Regions from separate parts of the Homo sapiens genome. Here region 1 is linked to region 2. The links are contacts of gene promoters, found by promoter capture Hi-C in human tissues and cell types (Jung and others, 2019). All regions are on one chromosome and are shown on one strand. Each heading gives the region's core, a stretch centred on a gene start or on the middle of the fragment in contact. The rest is flanking DNA. Distances are from core to core; before and after follow the strand shown.

What was found. The method cuts DNA at HindIII sites, captures the fragments that hold promoters and counts their contacts. A contact is called where the count stands out against the background at its distance.
Region 1: a contact is called between a fragment that was not itself captured here and the fragment with the promoter of ZNF665 in region 2, in 1 of the 25 tissues and cell types used here (spleen).

What each region holds. Positions count from the first base shown.
Region 1 is chr19:52,160,033-52,162,732 of GRCh38, forward strand. It overlaps ZNF836 (zinc finger protein 836), which reads right to left. Exons shown (of 5, transcript NM_001102657.3): 4 at 433-559. Among named protein-coding and RNA genes, the nearest start is that of ZNF836, 10 kb to the right of the region's middle. The HindIII fragment of the contact is 3,609 bases long and covers 1-2,700 here.
Region 2 is chr19:53,192,052-53,194,751 of GRCh38, forward strand. It overlaps ZNF665 (zinc finger protein 665), which reads right to left and starts at 1,307. Exons shown (of 4, transcript NM_024733.5): 1 at 1,261-1,307. RefSeq lists an enhancer at 1,123-1,272. The HindIII fragment of the contact is 23,654 bases long and covers 1-2,700 here.

The DNA of each region.
Region 1 (2,700 bases), core at 178-2,677, 1.0 Mb before region 2:
ATTAGCCGGGAGTGGTGGTGTGAGCCTGTAGTCCCAGCTACTCAGGAGGCTGAGGTAGGAGAATTGCTTGAACTCAGAAGGCGGAGGTTGCAGTGAGTTGGGTTCACGCCACTGCACTCCAGCCTGGGAGACAAAGCTAGACTCTGTCTCCATTAAAAAAAAAAAAAAAAAAAAGTACCATTATACTGACTAATACTTAAATATGGGAATTCTACTAAGGGCACAGGACAACAAGGGAAGACATTCAAAAAGGGGATAGTGTGATGATATGGGAAATGAAAGGCCAGATGCAGCATTATGAAGCTTTTTATTTGTGAGTCAACAAGGCTTCAGTCTCAGTCAAATAATGGAAGGGCTCCCAAGAAAGACAACAGAGAAAATACAAAAATACACGAGGGCAGATCTTAACTTCTAGAGCAAAATTATCCTTACCCAGGAAGACCAGGTTCCTGTAGTTCTCCAACATCACATCCCAGTACAAAGCTTTCTGCACAGGGTCCAGGGATTTCCACTCCTCCTGAGAGAATTCTATGGCTACATCCCTGAATGTCAAAGGTCCCTGAAATGAAAAACACATTTCAACATGAGCAATGGGAGAGCTCTTATCTATACATAAAATGAGAAGAGGAGAGAACTGTCACATCAATTTGATTGTGTGTTTTCACATATCCATGCAAGGCATCTGTGAGAAGGTTATGTGTCCCTAATTTAAGTTTGTTTTAAAATTCAATAGAAGATTATGATATCCCGTAAATCAGTGTAGGCTTCTCATTTTTGTGTACAATGCAAGAAATATACAAAGAAATGAACACGTGGTTATCTGTATAAGTATTAGATATTATGTTCAATATATCAACTGAGTGTCCAGATGAGCTAGTATACAAGTGGTGTCTTGGAGATGACAATGTCCATAGAAGCTTTAAAGAAAGGTCAGAAACTAAAAACTGTGATGACCACAGCAACAGCAATGACTGAAGTTTTGGAACACTCCCCATGTGCTGGGCATTACTCCAAATGCTTTACATGTTCTAATTCAAATAATAACATAATAGATAGAGAGATAGAGAGATTTGTTCCCATGTTACTAGGAGACAACTATGTCACAGAAAACGCTAAAAAGTCACCTAGGTCAACAACCTGAAAATGGCAGAGCAGGCATCTAAATCCAGATGTCTGAGAATCAGTCTTGAATCAAAAGAAACAAATGGTTAAATTATGGTTACGGTATGTCTTAGTCTCTCTGTGCTGCTGTACCAAGTAAAACAGACTGGGTAATTTATGAACAATAGAAATGTATTTCTCATGATTCTGCTGGCTGGGGAAATCCAAGATCAAGGTGCCAGCAGGACTGATGTCTGGTGAGAGATGATCCTCGCTTCCAAGATGGTCTTGTTGCTGCACAGGGGACGAATGCTGTTGTCCCCACATGGCAGAAGGGACAGAAAGGGCAAAAAGCAGTGAACTCCGTAGAATAAGCCTTTTGATATCTCATTGACGAGAACACCATACCCACTGATAAAGGCAGACTTCTCATGATCCAATCTCCTCCTAAAGGCCACGACTCATAACATTTAAAGATTAGGCACTGGGGATTAAGTTTCAACATGAATTGTGGAGGAGAAAAAAAAAAAAAACTCAGACTGTAACATTCCACCCCTGGCCCCCAAAATTGATATACTTCTCACAAACAAAATACATTCTATCCTAATGGCTCCCAAAGCTTTATTTCTACAACCAATTCAAAAGCCTATAGTCTAGAGTTGTATCTAACTATAATCTAAATCAGATATGGGTGAGACTCAAACATGCATTTCATCCAAAGGCAAACTGCTTTCTAGTTGTGAACCTATGAAAGCAAACGAGTTATGTGCTTCCAAAATACAATGGTGGGGCAGACACAGGTTAAATATTTCAATTCCAAAAGGGAGAAACAGGAAAGAAGGGGTAGCTGTTCCCATGTAAGGCTGAAACCCAACAGGGCATACACATTAAACACTAAGGCTTGACAATAATCTTTGACTCCGTGTCCCACCTTCTAGACATCCTGGAGTAGAGGTTGGGTCCCAACATCCTGGGGATCCCTGCCCTAGTGGTTTTGTTGGGATCACCCCACATGGAAGTTCTCACAGTGCCTGCAGCTCTCCCGAGCTGGAATCACATACCGGTGACTCTACAGTTTTGGGGTCTCAAAGGTGGCCCTGCTCCCAGGGCTTTACTGGACCTTATCCTAACAGGGACTCTCTGAAGTTGGCCCCACCTCCACAGCTAGACTGAGCATTGCCTTAGTGGGGACTTCCAGGGACAGCCTCACTCCTATGGCATTTTTATGCCTAGGCTCCAAGGATCTCTGAGGCATTCTTTGAAATCTAGATGGAAGTAACCGTGAGTCCACATCTCATGCCCTCTGCACACTTTTAGTTAGCACTGTGTTGATGTTGCCAAGGTTTACAGTTTGTGTGTTGTAACCGACCTCAATCCCTGGTGGACTGAACAAAGCGGGTGAACGCGGGAATAAAAGAAAAAGACAAGAGAGTATATTTGGAAGAAGGGGCCAGGGGGCATCTTGCCTCTAGTGGACAAGGGCCCTGAGCTTTTTCAGCCCTCCAAATTTATTAGGTAAAAGAGATAACCAGAAGTGGGGGTGATTGTTGGTAACTCAGTCGGCCGTTTGGATCACAGCAGGCTTGCAAGACTGCATCC
Region 2 (2,700 bases), core at 57-2,556:
CTCATTTTGAGCCCCTCTCTTCTCCTGCTGTTTCTCCTTCCCTCTATCCTTCTCTTCCACTTGTTCTGTTCCATTCTTGCAACTTGTTTCACCTCTTATTCCTCTTTCACCCGTCTTTTGGTTGTCCCCAATCTCCATCTATTTCTGCCTCTTTCTTCCCTTATCTCTGCTCTCCCTGTTAAATCCCCTCTTCCCTGTTTCACTTCCTTGTCCCCACTCTTTGGCACCCCCAGATCCCAGGTCTCCCCCTGCTGTGGTTCTCCCTCTGCTCTCCTTGTCACCAGCTGCCCCTTCTTGCTGTCCCAGCACCACGCTGCTCTGTCTATCCTGGCTCCAAATACCCCCTCCTCTCCCTAACTCTCCGTCTGAGGAGCTGCCCCTCTCCCTACCTTGCTGTCCTTCATCTCTCTAGACAGCGAGCTTTTCTCTACATTTCTCCAGTTGTTTCTCCATCCTGTTACTTTCTCAGCGACTTCTTTCACCCTTACTGTCTCTTTGTAAATCCTGACCCATCCTCTACTTTGCCATGTTTACTGGTTTCCCTCATTCTTTCCTCTGTCTCCGTTTTTCTACTTTTCTCTCAGCCCCCCTCTCTGTCTCCTGATCCCCTTGGCCCACACATTCACAGGGAGGGTTTGGAGTAAGACACCTGGATCCTGGAGGAGCACATTTTCCAGCGGGTGGAGCTGGGCAGGCAAGAACACCGGGTATCACAGGACAAGGCCCGGGCACCTCCCCAACGCGGGCTCAGGGGAAACGGTGACTGCGAAGGGGAGGCCTAGGGAGCAGCAGGGCCCGGCACGAGGAGGAGGGAGGTGGGGGGCGACGGCGCCTTAGGAGAGGGGTGGGGTATGCAGGATCCCAGGACCAGGCAGAGGCGCGGCCTCCCCGGGACTGGGGCTGCGGCGCTAACGCTCCAGTAGCTGACTAGGGCGAGGTTAGGGGACGGTAAAATCCTGCACCCACTTCGCAGATGAGGACTTCACAGGGCGCAGGTCAGTAAAGGGTTTTAAGCAGGAAACGGCGCAGGAAAGGAGGTGTCTGCATGGTCTGAAGGCCGAAAGACCGCGGGCAGGACCAGCCTGTGTGATTTTAACCCAAAGCGATGCGACCCCCAGAGTCTCGCGGCAAAGTCTGAATTTACATGGAATGGAGGGAGCCGTGCGGGGACTTTAAGGGCTATACGAACCCCCGGACATCGGGTACGGAGGAGCAGGGGACTCCGAAACGCAGGTTTAATCTAGATAGAGGGAAACTCACGCGGCGACTAACAGCCTTCACTCCAAGAGATCTGCTTCCGGGTTTGCAAGAAACTGCCCGCGCAGTAGGCAAAGGGGCGGGTTGCGGTGGGGAAAGGCCAGGCGTTGGGAGGGACTGAGAGCATAGGGTGGGCGGGGCCGGGGCGGGGCCTGAACCCTGGAGGCGGAGGTTGCAATGAGCCGATATCGCGCCATTGCACTCCAGCCTGGGTGACAGAGTGAGACTTCGTCTCTCCCAAAAAAAAAAAAAAACAAAACTTAGGCTATCTAAAAGTTTAACCAATGGCCAGTAATATAAGCAATCATGCATATGTAATGAAGGCGCCATAACAACCCAAAAGGAGAGGATTCAGCGGAGCTTCTGGATAGGTGAACACTGGGAGGCTCCTGCAGCGTGGTGCACCCAGGGAGGGCACCAAGGCTCAACGCCCCTTCTCCCATGCCTCACCTCACTGATCCCTTCCATCTGGCTGTTCTTCTGTCAACTTTGTAATATCCTTTATAATACGTAAATCTATGTAAAGTGTTTCCCTGTATTTTGTGAGCCACTCTAGCAAATTCGTTGAACCTGAGGAGGGGGTCAAGGGACTCCTGGATTTATATCTGATCTGTAAGCACAAGTCACAACCTCTGCTTGAGACTGGCATTGAAATGTGTGCACTATTGTGGGACTGAGCCCTCAACGTGTGGGATCTGATGCCATGTCCCGGCAAAATGGAACGGAATGAGAGAACACGCACCTGGTGTCTGTGGCAGGATTGCTTGCTTGGTGTGTGTGGGAAAACCCAGTACCTCTGGGCTAACTGTAGCATTCTGTGTTGTGAGAGAACAGTAGAAGAAACTGAATCAGTGTTTCCTATATTCTTAAATACGAATATGTGAGGTTTGTTGTTGTTTTTTTTTTTTTTTTTTTTTTTTTAGACAAGAGTCTTGCTCTTGTCGCCCAGGCTGGAATGCAATGGCATGATCTCGGCTCACTGAGCCACCGCCCCAGCGTGAAGGCATTTTTGAGCAAGTTATGTCTCCCTAATTCTGTTTTATTGTACTTTTCCCTAAGTAGTTATAATAGCCTCTAAATCTGTGTGGAGTTTTCAGTTTTGTGGACAATACAATAAATAGACAAATAAAAACCCAAACACAAGCTGATCTCTATAGAAGTGTTAGATATTATTTTCAACACACTAAGTGATACTCCGTATCTAGATAAGCTAAAGCACGAATGATGTCTTCTGAGGTGACAAGGTCCACAGTGGCTTTACAGAAACACTGGCCAGAAGTAAAAACTGTGATGATAATGGCAATAGCAATGACTGACTTTTCTGAACACTATGTGCAAGGCATTATTCGGAATACTTTACCTGTATTAACTCAAATAACAACATAATAGCCCATGAGAAAAAGATCTTTTCCTATCTTACTAGGAAACAACTGTGTCGGCCGG